4 separate regions of the Homo sapiens genome follow, and regions 2, 3 and 4 are each linked to region 1. Evidence: promoter capture Hi-C in 16 types of primary human blood cells and fetal thymus (Javierre and others, 2016). All regions are on one chromosome and are shown on one strand. The core of a region is centred on a gene start or on the middle of the fragment in contact, and the rest is flanking DNA. Distances in the headings are between cores, read along the strand shown. Region 1 holds the start of IMMP2L (inner mitochondrial membrane peptidase subunit 2). Region 2 overlaps LOC107986837. Region 3 has its middle 3.8 kb from the start of SAMTOR. Region 4 overlaps TMEM168 (transmembrane protein 168).

The links. Contacts are between HindIII fragments. The CHiCAGO score rates a contact against its expected background, and 5 or more counts as called.
Region 2: a contact is called between a fragment that was not itself captured here and the fragment with the promoter of IMMP2L in region 1, in 1 of 17 cell types (naive B cells). The highest score is 5.5, in naive B cells.
Region 3: a fragment that was not itself captured here is called in contact with the fragment with the promoter of IMMP2L in region 1 in 7 of 17 cell types (non-activated CD4 T cells, total CD8 T cells, total B cells and 4 more); the score reaches 7.8 in non-activated CD4 T cells.
Region 4: a fragment that was not itself captured here is called in contact with the fragment with the promoter of IMMP2L in region 1 in 1 of 17 cell types (non-activated CD4 T cells); the score reaches 5.3 in non-activated CD4 T cells.

Annotation. Positions count from the first base shown.
Region 1 is chr7:111,558,908-111,564,615 of GRCh38, reverse strand. IMMP2L (inner mitochondrial membrane peptidase subunit 2) reads left to right here and starts at 2,124. Exons shown (of 6, transcript NM_032549.4): 1 at 2,124-2,765. RefSeq lists a silencer at 1,963-2,592. The HindIII fragment of the contact is 1,654 bases long and covers 1,630-3,283 here.
Region 2 is chr7:113,120,893-113,126,600 of GRCh38, reverse strand. All of the region lies in intron 2 of LOC107986837, which reads right to left. Among named protein-coding and RNA genes, the nearest start is that of SMIM30, 5.2 kb to the right of the region's middle. The HindIII fragment of the contact is 2,327 bases long and covers 1,143-3,469 here.
Region 3 is chr7:112,940,849-112,946,556 of GRCh38, reverse strand. No RefSeq gene overlaps it. Among named protein-coding and RNA genes, the nearest start is that of SAMTOR, 3.8 kb to the right of the region's middle. The HindIII fragment of the contact is 418 bases long and covers 3,301-3,718 here.
Region 4 is chr7:112,781,560-112,787,267 of GRCh38, reverse strand. TMEM168 (transmembrane protein 168) reads left to right here. Exons shown (of 5, transcript NM_022484.6): 2 at 2,315-3,570. The coding sequence starts at 2,443. Among named protein-coding and RNA genes, the nearest start is that of TMEM168, 6.0 kb to the left of the region's middle. RefSeq lists an enhancer at 4,278-4,737. The HindIII fragment of the contact is 2,070 bases long and covers 1,508-3,577 here.

The sequences.
Region 1 (5,708 bases), core at 875-3,374:
GAAACCCTGACTAATATACCATAGTTCTGCCCTTTCCAGATATTAGCTTCTTTTTAAGTACACTTGATGAATCTTAGTGATAAAATCAGGCCAGACCTAGCAACTCTTTTTGTATGTTTATTGACTTCCCAATACAATAAAGGCCATAAACACCTGTCTTTGTTGTTTATTCACCTACATTCCATCCCAGACTGTCAGTTCCTAGTGACCAGGAGCTCCATTCAATTTGGGGTCATGGTACCAAATAGTTCTTGACTGCTATTTGATGAGGGTGGTCCTGTCACCTAAGTGCTCTTGAAATTAAGTCCTTAAGCACTGGCCGAAAAGAGCTTACTTTGCAGTAATTATTTCAGTGACAAGTAAGAAAAACTGGGACATATCCCCTTCACAGGAGAGCAATTTTGCTCTCTTTAGGAAACTCTTGGAATTTTAGTTATCAGGCTATTTAAGACCCTGAGTAGATTCTTAAACCTTTAGAATAAATTTTGAACCAAGAGTGCCAGAATGTCTGTTATTTACATTAGTATTAAGTGATCTGAAAGTGCACAGAGTAGTTTGGCAGTATCTAGAGGGAGAATAGAGACAGAAATAATGAAGATACAACTGGAGGAGTAAGAAAAGGAGAAAAAAAGTATTTTATGTCTGTTCAGTATTTCTAGGTGCCACTGCTGCTAAATGCCTGGGCTTCAGCCTAGGTTGGGTTGCTCCTAGCAAAGAAAACCAGTCCCTGAGACAACGAGTATTGCCAGGGAAGACAGGCTTTAATGCAGGTGATGCTGGCAGGGAGACCAGTCTCAAACATGTCTTAGGGAGACTAAAGTTAGGGCTTTCTATAGCAGGGAATTATGGAGGGGTAAGGAAGAGGAGTTTGTGAACAGGCAGCAGATGCACCTCATTGTCCAGATGTAGTGTTCTGGAAAGTTGCATTTCCTTGACACTATCTGGGAGGTCTGACAGTTTATCTGCTGAGAAAGGAACTCAGGTAAAATGCACGCAAGTTTCTCAAGTTTCACTTCGAAGGGAAAATTTGGCCGGTTTCGGTCTTCCCTTTCTATTTATCAATTCCTCAATCATGCGGAATCTGGTAGTTGATCTTTCTGGCTGCTTCACGTGAAGGAAGGGCATCTTGGGATGATATGGAATGAAAATATCGCACCTGTAATTGCAAGTACTTACGAGTACCTGGTTGGCATCCAGCTTGTTGGAGCACCATGATTTGGGTACTTTCATCAACATTTTAAACCACATTGAATTAGGATAATTAATAACATGGATAAGAAGGTTTCTTTGTAGGTTGTAATAACCCAGTTAAGAGTTTGTACCATTCGGCCGGGCGCAGTGGCTCACGCCTGTAATCCTAGCACTTTGGGAGGCCTAGGTGAGCGGATCACGAGGTCAGGAGATGGAGACCATCTTTGCTAACACGGTGAAATCCCATCTCTACTAAAAATACAAGAAGATTAGCCGGGCATGGTGGCGGGGGCCTGTAGTCCCGGCTACTAGGGAGGCTGAGGCAGGAGAATGGCGTGAACCCGGGAGGCGGAGATTGCAGTGTCGCTCTGGCGACAGAGCGAGACTCCGTCTCAGGAAAAAAAAAAAAAGAGTTTGTACCATTTGAGGGCAAAAGCTTCAGTATGAAATTCCCGTTTCTCTCAAGTAAACCGCCTGTCCTGTGTTACTCACTTTGTTTTACCTGGAGGCAGCAAAACTGAATAGTTTTCCTGAGTGCTCATGAGTAGGAAAAAATGAAATGAAGAGTTGCCCAGAGATCGCTAGTGAGGTGCTTTGCCACTACTGCCCTGTACTTAAGTAACTGTGAGGGTTCTCTGTTTCCTGGCTTCTAAAACAAGAGGAAGAGCTGAAGACACAGTTTCATAGACTTTTCGGCTCTTTATTGTAGTCTCCCCCATTAGTACGTTGCTGAGCTTAGGGCAAGTGCTCAATAATAGCTTGCTGAATTAGTGTTGTGTTTGATCCTTTCAGATCCACGCCGCATTTTGAGCCCGACCTGGGCGGGCGGTCCAGAGACCAGTTTTCCGCCGGGGGCGGAGCTTCGGGCGGCCAGCGCGCGACGGGGCAGCGGGGCGGAGCTTGCCGCCGGCGGAGGGCGGGGTCTGCGCGGGGACTTCCCCCGGGCTGAGCTGCGCAGCGGGTGCGGAGGGCGGGCGCCCGGCGTCCGGCGGCGGGTGGGGGGCTGTGAGGCTGGCAGGGGTCGGCGGGCGCGTAGCCGCCGACCCTTGGTGGTCTCTTGGGCTGGGGACCCTTCCCTGGGAGTCGGCCCCGGCCCCGGCGGGGCGGGCGTTGCCGGGAGGCGGAGGGGTGCGCGGCCGCGAGTCCTGCGTGATCGCGAGCATGTGTGCGTGCGCGTGTTTATCTGAGGCGCGTGCGGCGGCCACCCCAGCCTAGTCCTCTTCTTGGTGCCACTGGCTAACTAGGTTGAGAAACCGGCGCCACAGGCGGCACACCTGGCCCGGAGCTGGCCCGCTCCTCCCCGCCGAGCCGGCGCCCCAACAACGCGCCCTCTCCCAGTCCTCACAAAGGGGCCTAGTCCGGCCCCCGGCTCTGGCCGTGAGGGAGCGCTGTGGGGGCGCGCTGCCTTCTGCCTGGAAGTGTTGGGCAGGTGGTGGGAGAGCGTCAGGCTTGAACAACATGATTTTAAAGCACGTGTCTGTCTGTCGTTTTTTACTTTTAGGGTTTTGGCCAAATTGGGCGAGGGCACAAAATAACCACTTACCCCTTCTCACCGAGGAAGAGCGGGAGAAAGGGTAAGTAAGGAATGGTCAGGGGTGGAAGGACCTAGGACTTTATCCTGAGAGCGAGCGAGAGAGAGAAGGGCTAGATGTCCAGAACTGCTCGTGGGGAACTTGGGCCCAGATTCTACCTTTTCATCGGGAACTGGAGGACCCACCTTCAAAGTCACAGGCTCCAGGCCCCGGACTGTTTTCAGCCTCACACAGTCTATAGAGTTTAACAGCTTGGGCATGTGGATCCCTTTTAGCCCCTTGACCCGACAGAAAACTGCACTTCCCCTTTACCTGTTTTTACCTTGGAACATTGGTCCTCTCTAGTTGTCTGTCTCCGGCCCCTATCTTATTAGCCAGCTTTGACTAATCCCTGAGACCATAGCACTAAAGAATCCAGGTCCTGTTTGATAATGAACAGTAACCCCCCTAGGGATGTTTACATTTTAAAAGGGTACTCCTGAAAAAATCCTTTAGGACCCCAAAGCATAAAGTTAGTAACAAGATTACAAGTGTTGAAGTTCTTTGGGATCTCTCAAGCTTACAGAAGAAGATGTTTTGAGGGGAGAGAGATGACCAGGCTGGGCCTTTTTCTCTGGGCTTTCACTCTTGGTACCTCCTGGCAAGCATTCCATTCACTTTTGAAAAGTTGCCAAAAAGGACACTGAAGTTCTCTGAGGCTTACTGTGATTTTCAGTGTGGTCTATTTCATTGGTTCTTCTGTGGGACTTTTCTATCACTTCTTTAATACACTGCTTCCCTCTCCCCTGTATGGTGAAATGAAACACAGCTCCTCTCACAAGGTTGGGAGCTCATTATGCATCCTATATGTCACATATAAATAACCGTTTTAAATTAGTTGAAATTCAGATTAGCTACAAGCAGGAATGTAGTAAAACTGCATTCTTGGATTCTTACACAGGAAAAGTAGAATTGCCCTCTGTGATAGGCTGCCTATTCTGATACTGGCTGCCTGTGTCCTGAACGTGCCTATTTGTTTGTGCTCAAGTGATAGGTGACCACATAATTTATGGAAAACAGGAAGTGATTGTTTATTGATAATGGGTTCCTTCATTGATTCAATAGCTAATTCTCTCTTACCATGTGCTACGCACTTTTATCAGCACTTTGATAAAAGTAGGATGGTGAGAATGATGAGATTGTATTGGAGATGGCTGTTTTGGGGTAGGCCTTTCACCAGTTTTGTGGATTTTCTCAATAGTTACATGTTAATTTACAAGACTTTCCCTGTACTACTGATCATAGTGGTTTGCAGGTCTATACAGTGTTGTGGGAGAACAGAATTATTATTCCGCCTTTCTAGTACTTTCAGTAATAAACTTACAAGGATGGCTGACCTTGATGATTTGTTTCCTATAATGAATAATGTTATAGTCATTTTCCAGTGTACGAGTATAATAATTAGATGAGGATAACTTTTGTAGTTGTTCCATAAGAAGGACCTAATATTAGGAATCATGGAGAGTGTAAAGGATGATGTACTTAGAAAAATAAATTCGAAAGTAGACCATTTTTAACTTGCATGGGTTTCTGTGCATTTAGCCTCATTTAAAAGATCTAAGCTAGAATAGTTCTTTGTCTTTTTCTGGTTATAAGAGTAATAAAAAGTCAAAAAAAAGTTATTTAGAATTAAATCTGGGAGGGTATAAAAGGCAATAAGTGAGTTTCCTATGAGTCCACTTTCAGATGACCACTTAACAATTTGATACTTGTTTCTTCAACTTTTTGTTCCATATATACACATACTAAATATGCAGCTTAAGTATATGTTAAACATGTATACATCTTAACTGCGTATTATATATGGAACATATGTGGAACATAATACATGTTTTATATATATATATTTCACTGTTATTTGATAAAATTGTAAATTTCTTTCTTTTTCTCCTTCTTCTTGGCTATTTACCACCCCTCCTCACTCCACCCCACAACTTCATGTAGAAGTAGCATGACTTTTACAGTCTTTTGGACATGAGCTTGATTTCTGGCTCTTATTTTATTAGCTGTGTCACTTTGGGCCATTAAAATTTCTCTGCTGCTTGATTTCTTATCCATCAAAACAGAACAAAGAGTATATATAAAAGAATGTGTGAAAAAACAGTGCCTGGCATAGAAGTACTTACTTTTAAATTTCCCTCCCTGTTTTTCTATGTGGTCACCCATTACTTTCCTATGATCTTCCTTTTGATTGTGGAAAGCCATGTAGTGCCTAACTTTCCTATAGCTGTTAAGCCTCCCTGGGATTTGCTTTTCACAGGGGTTCACCTGGTGTATCTGATCCTAGAATTTCTGGGACGAGGACTGACACCTGATGTGGCCTTATCAGATCATTCCACAGCCTTGGATAAAGAGTGTCAGCTTGAAAAATGAAGGGAAAGAATTTCTATAATGTGTTTAAAAAGCCCTGACACTATTCTTAAAGTGAGAAAGACATATTACTGTATTTAGCTGAGTACTTAAACTTAGGATTTCCATTTTGGAAATGTCTTTGGTTTATAAGGATTACAATAAAAATGCTGATGCTTCATGTCCAAACTGTCATGATTTTGCCAAGTTGTGGATTTAATATACAGCTTAGCTGTGTATTTAGTATATCTGATACTGCTCTGGAAACTGAGAAAGACAAGTTCACAGACATCTGATTTCACACCAGACATCTGGTTTCACTTTACTGAGGAGTATGTTTTGTCAGTAGATTATAGGCATATTAACTGTACTGCTATAGTTTGTGGCATTTCTCTCATAAGCTGTGGTCTGTAGGGTTTAGTATGATGTTTTAGTCAAATGACAGCCCACCGAAAATGAGCACCTGGTCAGATAAGCACATTTCCCATAGGTTTCTTCTAGTGTCATTGTTCTTACAAGTTAACAAGGCAAAATCATTCTATCTTTGGTGGCTTTTGTATTTTTTGTGGAAGCAAGAAAATATTCTTAAAGAAAAGC
Region 2 (5,708 bases), core at 1,057-3,556, 1.6 Mb before region 1:
GATTTTCAATGCTTAAGGGATTTACTCACTCAAAAATTAAATTAAAATAGCTCATCTCCCAGAAAAACAGAACTTGTTTAGAATAGGACGAAATAGGAAAACCTACTTTGGCCTAAGATTGAACCATCCAGAAATGTATACTACAATGACTTGATATACACAAGACTGTTGAGATCATTCTGACTCACGGCAAAAAACCATTTTGTAGGTATTCCATTAGAAATCCACTTTCAGGACATATCACATTCAAAAGCTTGATCAACCTTATATCTTGATCCTCAGATTATAAACCGTTGCTGGTATAAATAAAATATACGAAACCCATTTTTCATCTGTTCACTGTAGCCTACATGATATTTTATGAAATTAGTATCAATTACACAGGCTGATGTTAAAATATTAACAACAATATTAAGAATCTATCATATATATTTAGGTATATATAAATGTTAACAAAATATTAACCAAAGTTTTCAGAAGTAGAAAAAAGTCTATTTTTCTCCTAGTTTCAAATAAAGAAATATAGAAATTCTTAAATACTAAAAATAAAGCCTTTGGAAAGATAAATAACAGTGTCTCAGAGATTCTTAAAACAAGCTCTTGTAATGAGTACCAGACAACCAGCACAGGACTTGTGGGTGGGTGCGGGGAGGAGATAAGAGAATCAGAAAATGCCAGGTTTAGAAGGAAGCTTCAAGGACATCTAATACGACTATCTTTTTGAAGTCTGAATCCTTTCTACAACATCCTAGTCAAGTGTTCATTAAGCTACCCTTCTGACTGATCAAGAGTTCACTGCTCACTGAGGCAGCCAATTCCCTCTTAGAATATTAGAAGAGCTTTTTTTTCTATCAAGCTAAAAACATGCCCATTACTTTCCCCCACTGGCCATCTAGAACAGGTCCAATTTCTTTCTTTTATGGTCTCTCCTATGGGATGAGCCACTGAAAATGGCAGACATTCTCATTGAGTCTTCTCATTTACATCCCATGGTTTTTCAACTATGTTCTTCAACTAATGAGTTTAATCTCATCATTATACCGTTAATATCCAGTTTGTTAATGTTTCTATTAAAATAGGAACCCATAAGAGAACAGCAAACTGCTGGGCATAGCCCACACTGGAAATAGCAAAGCAAAGCTTCCCTCCCTCTTCTAGATAATTCACATCAATTCCTGCAGCCGAAGATCATAATCACTGTTTTGGTGGCTATGTCATACATGTTGATGCAAACTGAGCTTTATGTTGGCTAAAATCTTAAAACCTTAAAGTCTTAGCTTTTAACTTATTCAATAAGTATTTGTGGATTGTCACTATGTGGGTATTACAATACTAAAAACAGTATGAGAAATCAGTGTGATATAACCAAAAGAGGTAGGATTCTGGGCCCAAGCCCCACTTTATCCAGCTATATCTATGTAGGAAGGACAATTGTTAGAGCTACTTAATTTTCATAATAGGATAACTATCTCACTACTTTCATAATAGGATAACTATCTCTCTGTTCCAAAGCATATGGATGGGCCCTTAGCCAGCAATTTAGAATACTAGCACTCCAGGATATCCAGCTCTCATCCAAATACCTACTGAGAGAAGAAATGTTCAGGGAAGATAGGTCCAAGACCTTACAAATTCAATCTTTGGTTAATGTTGTCACCAGAAACATACATATTGGGAACCCACAACACCTTTCTGATCAATTTCATTGACTCACATTTACTACTTTGTCCTAATCTTTGACAGAGGTTGTTATGAGAAATAACCACATAAAATTCATATCCACATTGTTATTTTTTATAACTGAGGTACTGTCCATTTTGTTACTCAGAGTCCTTCTCAGTGCTAGCAAAGGCTCTGTTCTCTTCAAGGAATCAGATGGTTCTGATTTTTAATGATGGAAATCATTAGAATGGTTTTACATATTTAAAAAATTAAATCTTAAAGACAGGACCGGGCGTGGTTGCTCATGCCTGTAATCCCAGCACTTTGGGAGACCGAGGCGGGCGGATCACGAGGTCAGGAGATCAAGACCATGCTGGCTAACACGGTGAAACCCCGTCTCTACTAAAAATACAAAAATTAGCCGGGTGTGTTGGCGGGCGCCTGTAGTCCCAGCTACTCAGGAGGCTGAGGCAGGAGAATGGCGTGAACCCGGGAGGCGGAGCTTGCAGTGAGCCGAGATTGCGCCGCTGCACTCCAGCCTGGGCAACAGAGCGAGACTCCGTCTCAAAAAAAAAAAATAAAAATAAAAATAAAAAAAACTTAAAGACAGAAATGAAAGGCTATAAGAAATGATAAGAAAAAATGTCATTTGATACATATACAAATAGTAAAAAGTATTTGTATTTTCCACTTCATCAATAACTGAGAAGGGATCCAGGAAAGCAAGATGAATAATTCTAACTGGGTCTTGTTAAATGCATCATTAACTTAACGTCAGGTTAATGTCATTCAGTTGCCCCTATGTCACCACTTCCCAAATAATCAGCCTCCATAAAATGGCAAAGGCTCTAAGACCAAATGAACCTAAGAACTACCAGGAGAACTTATTTTAAAGTTTTGCATTTTAAAATAAATTCCCCATATAATTGGGATGCAAGTGAAACACAGAACACACTTTGAGAACACTCTTCCAGGACCAATTTTGGATAACTTGAATAAACTCTGTCACTCTTCCCTGGATCCTCTACTGTCTGTGTAGGTCCCTTTTAATGTCTGGTCACCAAAGATACGTACGGTATTCTATTAAGGAGTTACTGAAGCAGGGCAGATGAAAGGATTATGTCCCTTCCCTTATATAGCCACCACAAATACATTCACGAGTGTTGATAGGCATGCTCGCAAAAGCAGTGCTTCATTCTGGCTGTCAGATTGAGGTCAATTACTTATTTTGACTCTCCTGAGATACGAGAGCGTAAAATGCATTAAAATGAGTCCAAATCAAAATCAAATGAAACTATAGTGTTGTACCGGACTTTTTCCTCAACTGAACCAGTTGCAATCTTTTTAATATAACCTATTCCACCTTTAAGATAAAGAAATTATCTTTAAAGTAAAATGGAAAATCTGGCAACCTCCTTGAGTAAACTTATTCTTGCAGAAAGTAAGATTTTTGTCATTTTAAAAATTATAAAGATTTTTAATTCAAACAACATTACTTTAGAGTATTTACAGACAAGTAGTCTGTTGTCTTAATGGTCTCAAGGAATAGATTTATAAACAATCAAAATATTACAAGCAAGAGTAAAGAAACTTTACTATTGCCATCTCACTCACCGTTTCATAGATAAGTAAATCATTCCGTGACACAGAAACTGATGTTTTACCATAAAGTGTTCTACTTGGACCACCTATGTGATTTAGCAAAAGAAAGAAATTTAGAAACTAAAAGTGACTGATCACTTACAGTATGTCAACTGGAAATTCACAATAAATGTCTACATAAAAGGTTCAAGTACTCATTTAAGCTTCCAGAATCAATTTAAAAGTAACCACTTCCTAGATACTGCTAACCAATACATTCTAGCCTTATATACACTGCAACATGTCTAGATTGACTCAAAAAGGTATTATCAAATGAACAAAGTGAGATATCCAAAGTGTAAATTCAGTTTCTCAAATTGAGTGATTTTACTCAAAAAATGGCCAGACAGAAATTTCATAAGTCTTTCAATTCAAGGGAAATCAAGCTAAGACTGGTTGGGGCAAGATTCACTGTCCTAGGCTATTTGCATTTTCTATCCAGCATGTCTTTAATTTTATAAATTTCATGCTGTTTGTTTCCATGGTTACCAGCTCTTAATCATAATGAGCACCTGGTCTACACAGGGGAATTAATATTTCCCTGTGAAATGCACATACTGAATTGTTAGTAACCTCCCTACATTTTTGCAGGGACTAGTTTAAACTCTTGACCCCTAGCAAAGATTTTCTTTTTTTTTTTTTAACTTTTGAGCTTTGGGGGCACATGTGCAGGTTTGTTACATAGGTAAACACGTGTCATGGGGGTTTGTTGTACATATTCTTTCATCACCCAGGTATTAAGCTCAATACCCAATAGTTATCTTTTCTTCTTGCAAAGATTTTCAAAGGGTCTCTTTAACTTTCTTTTTGAATTTTGTATATTATATGGACTTCAGTTATTTCATGATAATTGAAATTTTCCAACATTTCACAATCTATGTTGACAGGGAACATCTATGCTCGTTAGTATGTGTGCTTTTGCGCCTGGGTCAGATATACTTCAATTTTTAAAAAAACACTTTTTTGTACATATTTATTAAATCTCAGTCAAAATCCACTGATAAATTAGGTGAATACTGGCACCCCCTCATTCACCACACTAGGGCCTAGAGGGAAGTACACAAACACCAGCAACCCCTCAAGTAGTCAACATGATTAGGCTTCCTAAGCGACATTAGAACACCTTATTAAAAAGAAAATTAAAATGGTTTTTGATCCTGTGGACATTTTCCACATAACAGTATGTGGACAATGATTAAAAGTATAAAGTTTGTCATATTTCCTGGATATATACCACTCACTAGTTATGTGACCTGGTGTAAATTACTTAACTATGCCTCAATTTCTTCATCAGAGAATAATAATAGTATCCAGTTCACAGGATTATTTTAAGGAGTAGAGGGGCTTATATTTATTAATGTGTGGAATAGTTACTGGTGCATATTAGTCACTATTTTAAGTGTTTGTTAAATATAAATGTCAATCAATCAATCTGACCCTATGCAGCATGAAACCATGTTTTCTAAGAAAATCTTTTTTTCCATAATAAATGTTTGTTCATCTCTCATGATGTAAGCTAATTCTGATTTTAAATTTCCTTGTGTAGCACTTAATAAATATTATTTGATCAGCTACTTCCATCTCTGAAAGGTCGTCTGTTGCCAATAATAGTGTCACTTACACTGACCACACTGAGCCACTTTACATGTCACCTCATTCAATCTGCATTAACAACCCTATGAAGATTGGTGATCCCCTTATTACAGATGAGAAAACTCAAGTTTCAGGAAGTTAGATAATTCGCACAGGTTTACAGAGTTAGAAAGTGGCAGAGGTAAATTTGGAATCAACCTCTGATGATCTCCAAACCCTGTCTTAATCAGTCCATTACCACGGATAAAGTGCTATATAGATAATGTCACAACTTTTCAAAACTAGAACTTTGTCATATCCAGTAATTTTTAACCTACTCCAAGAAGATCAGCAATATAAATAAAAGTGGAATCTGTCATGCCTATGAGTGGGGTTTCTCTACTTCCCCATCCTCCACAAGCTTCCGTGTGTGATTGATTCCCACAGACAAATGACGATCACCAGTGGGAGTAAGGACCACATACATAATGGGCTCTAGGTGGTGCCTGGAACTTTGCCCAAAATGACCTTTTGCACCTCTCCCATACACTTCTGTAAATGCTGGTACAAGAGGTACTTAGCCTCAGGAGACGTTTTCTGCAGTAGTTGAACAGCTCTGGAAAGTGTAGCTTCTCCCATCCTTTTGACCTAATGAGTAGTTAGTTCTAACATTCTCAGTGATTAGTCCTATTAATGATGGGAAATACTGACTAGGTCTGGGTTGGTCTTTTTTAATTGTGAAGCTCCAGTAAAATGTTTCGACTCACTTGGCTTGGCTCAATTGCTAATGAGGAAGTCTGGGTTTTATAAATTCCCTGACACACACCAGTCAC
Region 3 (5,708 bases), core at 2,260-4,759, 1.4 Mb before region 1:
ACCAGAAGTTCAAGACCAGCCTGGGCAACACAGCAAGACCCCCATCTCTAAAAAAGAAAAAAAAACTTAATTAGCCAGGCATGGTGACATGCACCTGTGGTCCTAGCTACTCAGGAGGCTGAAGGGGGATGATCACTTGAGCCCAGGAGTTTGAGGTTACAGTGAACTATGATTGCGCTGCTACACTCCAGCCTGGACAACACAGCAAGGCCCTATCTCTAAAAAGAAAAATTTTTTAAAAATAATTAAATATATATAATTTTTAAAAAAGAAATATGTTTATTAAAATATGGTAGTAAATTTTGATCTGGCTTTTCATAAAACATTTATTCTAATTATCTTACAAAAACTTTGGGGGAGAGATAACAGTCAACTTTAGGAATTATATGGAATTATATGGTGATTACTTCATACTTGGACATATAAAACCTTGTAATTTCAGAGCTAATATGGGAATATGTTCTACCTTCAGGAAAAGAAAAAAATGGGAAGTCAGTGACAAACTATTAAAATCTAAAAAGAGACTGATGTACATTTAATAAAAGAAGTGTAAATTTAGCTTCCTGCATTTAGAAAAATTTCACTTTTTCTGGCCCCTTAGAAACAATTTACATGTATACCATTTATTCACATTTGTACTTTCTTAACTTTTTGAAACACTTTCAGTCCGTAATTTCTTTTTATTCACACAACTTTGTGAGGTAGGAATGGTAAGTCGTCATTATCTGACAGCTAGGAAACCAAGGAACCTAGCAGATAGCAGATCACTTCAAGTCACAGAGAAAGCTAGCAAACACTGCTTCTCGATCACCTAATTCTCTTCCAGAATGTCTCAGCACTAGCCACCTCTGTGCAATAAAAAAATACAACTCACTTCAGCGAGTTCAAATAGAAAAGGCATCCCAGATCTCCAGAAGGATCAGAGAGGCAGACTTGGAGACTACGCAGCCCAGATCCCCACATAAGTCGACCCAGCAACTACTCTGGGAAAGACCCATTGCCCCTATTATTTGGCTTATAAAGCAAATGTTAGACACTGGAAGGTAGACCCTTGGGCTTGGTGATCCTAAAAGAACTACACCTCCACTCTCCCTCAACAGGCCAAAAGATTCCCTATGGCTTCTATTTCGTCATTTTGCTCTCTTCCAAATAGACACTTCATTCAGAGACTATGGTTAGCAGAGTCTAGGTCACTTCTCTGAGCCCGCATTCAGAATGTAAGAAATCTCCCAAGGTAAAAATGATGTTTGAAAGGAATGAGTAGACTCAACATGGTAAGGTACATCTCATAAAGCTTTCTCAAAATCAATGTGAGTCATAGAATTACTGTGGTTTGGGGACTGAAAGGGATCTTTCCAATTGCCAGTATTTTATAAATTTTAGGCTGTGATTCATTAGAGGGCCATAAAATCAACGTAGTACACCCTATAGTTTTAAAAAACTAAAAATAGAATGGAAAATACCACCATGCACTGCATTAGTGAAGATAAGTATTGCTTGGTGAAACTTTTGTCCTCATTATATATGTGGGTATAAATTTATATATATATATTTATAATATATATATATGTAGAGTACATATATATATATACATGTAGCGTATATGTCTAAGTGTCCTGTGCCATCAGGTAATATGTATTTCTTACTAGAGTCACAGTAAAAAAAAAATTGAAAAACACTAGTCAAATCCAATCTCTTCATTTTACATTTGACAGAGGATAAATAAGGCTCAGAGAACCTTGCTCTGTTGGTTAATGCAAGGCTGGAATTAGGACACAGAAAATTTTAGTCCTACATTTCATTGTAAGGACATTATCACTTAGAAGAAGTGTACTTCTTTTTTATGTAGATCTATTCCTACATTAGCCCTGTTATGATTATCAGATATATTTCATTAATTAGTATATCACAAAATAGTATGTTTTATAATTGTATTTTGAGGTAAGCATTAATTAATGATTGTCACTTGGTTAACACCAGTCTATTAACTTTTGAAAGATAACAAATCTATGTGTTATTTTGAATACTTTTAATGTTCGCAGTTAAATTATGAATTGCAGGGAAGTCATTGAAATAGTAGTTAAAGACATAAATTTTTAAAGAAAATAACCCTTTTAATTTTTAATCAATAGAAGGATTTTTAAGTTGTAATCTGCCATATTGAATAGAAATATATCACTAAAAATATTTTTCTTGTTAGTTCTCCACTGTTTGTCTCTATCAAAACATTAAATACGGAATTTTCCAAAGAAAGTTTCTATGATTTGAAATAAAATATGAAAAACAAAAGGCTTAACAATTTCTCTATAATGTGCTCAACTAAAGATACATCTACTTTTTAAAATTCTGAATACAAAAAATCATTTAAACTTCATGGATATTTTTATATTCATGGGTAAGAATTTTGGAAACAGTGGTAAATATTTTCAAAATGACATAGATTTTACTTTTCCAGTCCTCATTTTAATTGAATTCCTAAAGATTCTATTTCTAAATAGTCATGAACCAAAGATTTGTCCAGCTTGGAATACAGCTGTATCTTCAATAATAAAGCTGATCAAGTCTTTTTGCACAATTGACATACACTGTTGTTTTAACATTTTTATGTTTTAGAAACAGAAGTTTAATATTAATACTTTTATTATGCAACATTAAAGTCTAATTGCTTTTATGATTTTTATAATAAAGAGGGCCAAAGCAAAGTAGATAATACCAAGTCACTGAAGAATAAAAATAAATAATGCCTTAGATTATTCAAAGAAGCCCAATTTCTTTTTTTTCTTTCTTTCTTTTTTTTGTTTGAGACAGGGTCCCACTCTGTCACCCAGGCTGGAGTACAGCGGCACAATCATGGCTCACTGCAGCCTCGACCTTCTGGTCTCAAGTGATCCTCCCACCTCAGCCTCCCAAAGTGCCTGGATTACAAGTGTGAGCCACCAAATTTGGCCAAGAACCCCAACTTCTATTATGTAGTCTTCTCTCTTCTACAGCAACACTCAAGAGGGTCAGAATGAAATGTACAACACTTTTACAAAGCACACCCAGAATCTACGGGTTACCTCAGTGCCTCATCCCAGATTTTGATATGGATTTTTAAGTTGACTTTTCATCACCCATTAATTTTTTCAAACTCACACTGGGAATAGAACATATTTTATTACTGCAATATGTTGACTCTTTACACCCTTTGTAGGAATTTGTGTTACTTATAAAGAATATAACTGTAAACAAAGATGACAAGGTATTTTTCTCACCAAAAACATTTTTTCTGTACTGAGTGGTTCTTGAACAAAGGAAGCTTACTTGACCTACCTAATGTGTAAGGAATTAGGTACAGAAGCTGGTTAGGTAAGGCAAAGAATGAGGATGAGAAATTTACTTATCAGGGGTTTAGAGCGGTCATTAGAAAAGCCTCTACTTCCCAGACTGGTTTGTCCTGCTCAGTGAAGAGTGTTTTATTCCAACATCCTCTTTCCCTAACAGGCATTTAAAATAATGAGAGAATTTTTTAAAACAAGATATTTACAGTAAATAAAAACCTGTCACCACAAAGTGGGGAAAGTTGCTGACATTTTCCTGGGCATAGGATATGCTCATTGAATATGGCACCAAGCCTGCTTCCTTCAGTGAATCCATTTTATCAGCAATTAGGACTGTTGTTTCACTTAAATGGAGAATTCCATTATGACTCCTCAGCAACCTTAACAGATAGAAAGCTTTTTGTAATATTGCTAACTACACAGGAGGAAAGTAGTTATAAACTCCCTTTTGTGCTGTGGTGGATAGTCAGTGGAAAAAAAATCACCTTAAAATATTTCTCAGGACATGTTGGCCTATACCTCATTTGAATTCACGCATCTTTAAAATAAAATCTGTGCCTGGCGCCGTGGCTCACGCCTGTAATCCCAGCACTTTGGGAGGCCAAGGTGGGTGGATCACCTGAGGTCGGGAGTTTGAGACTGGCCTGACCAATATGGAGAAACCCCGTCTCTACTATAAATACAGAATTAGCCGGGCATGGTGGCGCATGCCTGTAATCCCACCTACTCGGGAGGCTGAGGCAGGAGAATCGTTTGAACCTAGGAGGCGGAGGTTGCAGTGAGCCGAGAATGCGCCACTGCACTCCAGCCTGGGCAACAAGAGTGAAACTCCATCTCAAAATAAAATAAAATAAAATAAAATAAAATAAAATAAAATAAATCTTATTTTTATTTTTAAAATAAAATCTTTATTTTATAATAAAAAATTTAAAATTTTTTAAATGAAAATTTTAAATAAAACATTTTTTAAATAAAAAATTTAAAGAAAATAAAAAGATTTCATTTTCTTTAAAATAAAATCTGGCTGTCCAATTGTTATTTCTTCGGTTGCTTTTCAAGAAAGTGTGAAGTCAAAAAGTAATTTTAAAAGGTAGGACTCTTCAATCTGCTTGAACAACAACAACTAGATAGTCTTAAATAAGTTCCTTTTATTTATTCTTACGTTGGTATTTTAAGTTAAATATTATACCAATAAGAATAGCTAGTTACGAAACAGCAGGAAATTCCACATATTTATTTAAAAAATAGACATGTTTTTAAAATCTCATTAATGACTTTGTAAATTGTAATACCTACCTTTGGTAAGGGTGCAATGAAATAAACACCCATAGGTACTAGTGGACATGGCATAAACTGCTACTATCTTTCAGAAAAGGCAATTTCATAATATACATCAAAACCCTAACATGTTTGACCCTTTGCTTCAGAAATTGAACTTTTAGGAATTTAGCCTGATGGAATGTATAATTAAAGAAATGGACAAATACTTGTGTGCAAATGTGTTTGTCATGACATTATCTGTAATACAAAAAAGCTGGAAAAAACATAAATCTACAATAACTGGGAATTGGTTAATGAAATAGTAGGCTATTCATACAATAGATTGCCACATAGGCATCAAGAAATATCCTATTTGAAATTAGTATATACAAACAAAGAAAAAATGTTAAGTTGTTATCTCTCAGTCCAGATGTCTTATTTTCTTTACTCTTTTCTGTATTTTCCAAATTTCCTTCAGTGAACATCTTCAGTTAAGAGGCCTTAAAAGTTCATTTGCTAGTATTATGCTGAAAAGTTCTTTTTTAAAAAATAAAACTACAGTTCAGCACAAGTGAAATTTAATGCTCTTTTTACTATCATTGTATCTTTCGAATATCTGCACCATTATTTGCCTTCCATATGTATTAAAATATGGAAAGAGCCAAAAGAGACATGTAATTCAAGCTCCCCTTTCTTCCCAAATGAAATTCCCCCAAATAAGACCACCATATTTTCAATTTATTAGGCACTTCCGCTTAACTTCTCTTCATAATTATAAGGAGTTCTTTTGAAGTTTATATGTCCTTGTCTTTGTGTTTGATCTGTCTCTTCACTGTGCTGTAGGGACACATCTTCCGCCTTTAAATTCCATCAATCTCCCTTCACCTCCCGCTTCTCCTGTGTCCTAGACAGTGTGTATAATTCTTTGCTCTTCAGCGTATTCAATATAAAGAAGGTAGCATATAAAACAGTTACATAATGCAAGCTTTATTCGTAGTTAGAAAATCATTATCAAAATGTTACCATTGCAATCATTTCCATAGACTGTCACGTAACCAACACCTGCAATGGGGAAGTGGTACACAATCCAACACAACTCATTAGGGGCTCTCAGTCTATTCAATCTCT
Region 4 (5,708 bases), core at 1,293-3,792, 1.2 Mb before region 1:
TGAAAAGTGAATGGGTAAGAAGTGAAGCAACTAAATACCAGCTGTCAAAAGGACACGAGATTGAGCTTCATAGAGGATATGGGGATGAGCAAGGATTGTTTTTGTTTTGTTTCTTTACTTTTTTGGTATTGTTTTTAAAAGAAACAGATTTATAAATGTTTAAATACTAATGGATAAAATAAAAGTGAGAGTTTGCAGAGAGAGGAGAGAGTCTGATGTTCTAGAAGAGGCGGAAGGAAAGATGCACAATATGGCTGAAAGGTTTAGCCTTAGATAGAGAAGCAACTGCCTTCTTTCCTTATATTCGGAGATATAAGTAGAGGTGGGTTTGTGGACTTGGAAACTCAAGTGAGCTCCCTTTTGATGACTCTCTAGGAGGCAGAGTCATCTGGTGAGAATGCAGTAGGAAGAAGTAGGGTATCAGAGATTTGAAGAGAGGAAATAGGGGTTTGAATAGTCACAAGAATGGGGAAGAATGTTGACCAGGGAAGGATGTTCCATGGATTTAGAGTGGCACCATTTAGCCTAGTATGTGAATTTCTTCCCCCCGTCCAGCAGTGTTCAGTAGTCTGAGCCCAGATTGTACCATCAGCTCTTTGAGGATATATATTCTAACGTATTTGTTGAATTATTTTATAACACACATTAGTGATGTTTAAAAAAAAAAAACTCAATGCATTCCAGATTTTGTCAGTTTCTCACACTCAAGTTAAAAAGATAAACCAAAATATACCAAAGGAAGACATTTTCTTTAACATTATGTGGTACCTTAAGACATGAGTGAATAAAGATGTAATTAAGGAAAATCAGTTGGAATACTTAAATAGACTTAGTTGTAAAAATAAAAAAAAATGTGCTTGTTGAACGTATAAAAGCAAAATAAGTAATAATACTCGGAACTTCCCAGAGACCCTAAGGTTGCTTTAGTAACATTCCTCTCCAGCCAGATGAGTACTAAGAGTTGATTCCAGGTTCTCATGTTTCTCTTGAGCCTTTTAGTGTACAGCTATTAAGAAAGTACAAATAAACTAATCAAAAACTCGTGGGTTTTTTTTGTTTATTTTTGGAGGCAGAGTCTCGCTCTATCCCCCAGGCTGGAGTCCAGTGGCGTGATCTCCGCTCACTGCAACCTCCGCCTCCTGGGTTCAAGCGATTCTCCTGTCTCAGCCTCTTGAGGCATTACAGATGCCTCCCACCACACCTGGCTAATTTTTGTATTTTTAGTAGAGACAGGGTTTTGTCATGTTGGCCAGGCTGGTCTTGAACTGCTGACCTCAAGTGATCCACCTTCCTCACCCTCCCAAAGTTCTGGGATTGCAGGAGAGAGCCACCGTGCCTGGCCCTAGTTTCTTTTTAAATATCTGATTGGGTTCTCTTTAGATAGCATTACCGTGAACCATTGATCAGTTCTTTTGAAACAGTATACTAGGAAATTTTGAAGAATTATTATAGATGGTTAAATCATTTTTTGACTACTATCATTTTTTAGGTGTGACTTGTGGAAGCTTTAATTTCGTGGGTCCACTAACAAATACTTGTAGTAACGTTTGTTTAAGTAGAATTGAAAAGTTCTTCATTTACTTTATAATGACTATTAGGGTGAGCATTTCAGTTTTTCATTTTTGACTCGGAATTTGTCAGGAATTGGTTTGCTATAGAGATAGTGTTTAGATTTGGAAAGCAAGTTTAGTAATCAAAGTAATTTAATAGAGATAAAAGTACAGGGAGAATTATGGCTCAACTTTAGGGACTGAGTAACTTTAATACTTTAATTCTAGTAAGTTTATTAGTTAAACAATGTAAAGACCTTGTGTAACATTCTAGAGCTGGCTTGTAAAAAGATGTAGGGGATATTTGGCAGGTCGTAATGGTTGCTGTTACTACTAATATATACAAGTGCTTTTCAAATTAGAGGTAACGATGAAGTCCTTCATTCACTTTAAGAACTAAGTAGCTTTCTCTTGTACCAAAACCTGCTACAATCTAAGCTAAAGCGAACATTTCACCTTTCCTTGTTGTTGAAAAACCAGATATTTAAACCAGAATGAATTAGGTGAATTCTTCACCATCTCTGGAAGAACAGTTCTATTCATGCAGTCATAGCATATGATGAGTAGAAAGCACAGCCATGTCTGTCTGGATAAACTGCCAAGTTTTAAGCCAGAAACAGTATTCATTAAGATATTGCAAATCAGGTTGTAAACTGGATTTCAGTTTTTAAACTGGATTTTTTCACTTTCTATATGCATCTTTATATAAAATAATGAGTAAATTATATAAAATTAACTCTGAAATATTGTTTTCTTCTTTTTAGATCACTATAAACAAAATTTCCACAAGAGAAAATGTTGAAATAGGAGTTGCGGATACATTGGATATACTGGATGAAATACAAGCGGTTAATTTTTGTAACGTGAGGGAAAAGCCCACATTGCTGGTTACATGTGTAAATCACTGCGTTATTGCTTTAGTCATTGTCTCTATTTAGCAATGACAAGACTGGAAGAAGTAAATAGAGAAGTGAACATGCATTCTTCAGTGCGGTATCTTGGCTATTTAGCCAGAATCAATTTATTGGTTGCTATATGCTTAGGTCTATACGTAAGATGGGAAAAAACAGCAAATTCCTTAATTTTGGTAATTTTTATTCTTGGTCTTTTTGTTCTTGGAATCGCCAGCATACTCTATTACTATTTTTCAATGGAAGCAGCAAGTTTAAGTCTCTCCAATCTTTGGTTTGGATTCTTGCTTGGCCTCCTATGTTTTCTTGATAATTCATCCTTTAAAAATGATGTAAAAGAAGAATCAACCAAATATTTGCTTCTAACATCCATAGTGTTAAGGATATTGTGCTCTCTGGTGGAGAGAATTTCTGGTTATGTCCGTCATCGGCCCACTTTACTAACCACAGTTGAATTTCTGGAGCTTGTTGGATTTGCCATTGCCAGCACAACTATGTTGGTGGAGAAGTCTCTGAGTGTCATTTTGCTTGTTGTAGCTCTGGCTATGCTGATTATTGATCTGAGAATGAAATCTTTCTTAGCTATTCCAAACTTAGTTATTTTTGCAGTTTTGTTATTTTTTTCCTCATTGGAAACTCCCAAAAATCCGATTGCTTTTGCGTGTTTTTTTATTTGCCTGATAACTGATCCTTTCCTTGACATTTATTTTAGTGGACTTTCAGTAACTGAAAGATGGAAACCCTTTTTGTACCGTGGAAGAATTTGCAGAAGACTTTCAGTCGTTTTTGCTGGAATGATTGAGCTTACATTTTTTATTCTTTCCGCATTCAAACTTAGAGACACTCACCTCTGGTATTTTGTAATACCTGGCTTTTCCATTTTTGGAATTTTCTGGATGATTTGTCATATTATTTTTCTTTTAACTCTTTGGGGATTCCATACCAAATTAAATGACTGCCATAAAGTATATTTTACTCACAGGACAGATTACAATAGCCTTGATAGAATCATGGCATCCAAAGGGATGCGCCATTTTTGCTTGATTTCAGAGCAGTTGGTGTTCTTTAGTCTTCTTGCAACAGCGATTTTGGGAGCAGTTTCCTGGCAGGTAAGCTTATTGTTTGTCCAGCAACCCCAATGACGTGTAATAAAATGCTAGCTTCAATAATTGAAATTAAAGTTATAAGGTCAAGTTCCTGATTTCAAAAGGATATTCATGTTTGCTCTTAATTTTGTTCATGGAATTGAAGCACTGAATGTGTTTCAAGAGGATAATTTATTTGATCTCTAGCAAAGAGGTACCAAAATGTTATGAACACTCAGCGTTGAGATGCCTCCCGCTTCCTGACTGTTCATTAGTGAAACACTCATCGATTAAAGAGTCTTAGAATACTAACATTTGGAAAGTATTTAAAGATTGTATTTTGATCCTTTAATTATACCCATGAGGAAACTGAAAGCCAAAGAAGACACATCCAGAGTCACTAGTACTAGCAGGAACAAGGTTACTTAACTTCTGTCTATTCCCTGGACTCCTCACTGTAACATGTTTCTTTTATGCAGCCATTTCTCTGAAGGTTTTATATAAAAGGTGATCAGATATATAACAACATAGCAGGTTCTTAATTATAGATTAGAGGTTATCCTAAGAAAGAAAACATGGGTTTCACAGTACCTTTGCTGCCCAGAAATGTTTTCTAAAAGGTTCTTGTAGACAAAGACATTTGTACAGTTGGAGTTTGCATCTGCAGTATTAACAAACCCAGTCTTCCATTAATTGAGCATGTATTGACTATGCACTATATGCCAGGCACTATAGTGGGTGCGGAAGATCTCAGGATGTCTGTCAAAGGTGGCACAGTCTCCAATGGGAGGAGGAAGAGGCTGGCATGTAAACAAACAATTATGATTACAGTGTGATAAATACTATAATCTGTGTACATCAGACTGGGATGTGGGGCATAAAGGAAAGTCAGCTCTGCTTGGTGCAGCTCTCTGTAAGAGTTTGTTGCTGCTGACTGATTTCTAGAGGAAAGTCAGCTCTGCTTGGTGCAGCTCTCTGCTTTGTAACAGTTTGTTGCTGCTGAGTGATTTCTAGAAGTGTGTTTTGAAGAGGGAGATGTGAAGACTTGCCTGGACATGGTGCTAGATTTCTAGTCAGCTGGGCTAGGGCAGGGATCCTGTGTGGGAGTCAGCCAAATGAGGAAAACATCTTGGGTGTGGCCTGAGGATATTGTCCTTACTTTGCTCTACTTGCTGGTGTTAGGTACTGTCAGAATTATGTTGTTGATGTCAAAAACTCAAGCATGAGTTTTCCTCCCTCTTCCTTGCCCCTCCTCCTGCTAGCTCCTTTCCCAGCCCTAAATACTTTTTCTTTTCCAAGTCAGCCTCATTCATGCTGGATGCCATTCCAGGCTTTCAAATTCTGTTAACCAAATATGAATATTTTCTTGGTCTCCAAACTTTTTCTTACCTAGTGGTCTTCAGATATGGTGTGTACCACTGGAGGTACACAAAAACTTTCCAAGGAGTCTGTCAGCAGAGATAATTTTAAGAGAATCAGTTTCCTGATTCTCACCTTCCATTCTACTCTTTCCTAAAGTTGATCTACTTGAGAATCCCTTTAGCTGTAGGTGATAGCATTGTGGTTTTAATTTATGTCTCTAATGACTAATGATGTTGAGCATCTTTTTATGTGTGTATTAGCCATTTACTTTGTTGTTTAAATATTCACATCTTTTGCTCATTTTAAAGCTGAGGTTATTTGTCTTTTAAGAGTTCCTTATATATTCTGGATACGAGCCCTTTGTCAGATAAATGATTTGGAAATGTTTACTCCCAGTCTGTGGCTTCTGTTTTTATTTTCTGAATGATACAAATTTTTGAAGAGTTTTCAAGAGTAAAGGTTTTTAATTTTACAGAGTCCAGTTTATCCACTTTTTCTTTTATGGGCTCTGCTTTTAGTATCTTATCTAAGAATTCTTTGCTCAACACTAGGTCACAGTTCTTTCAAAAGCATTATTGTTTTAACTGTTACATTTAGGTGTATGATCCATTTTGAGTATAGTATGAGATAAGGATCTAAGTTTGTTTTTTTTTTTTTAATATATAGATCTCATTGTTCCCAGCACCATTTGTTGAAAAGATTAACATTTCGCCTATTGAATTGCCTTGGCGTCTTTGTTTAAAATCAGTTAAACATAAACGTAAGGTTGTATTTTTGAGTTTTTTTGTTATATTGACCTA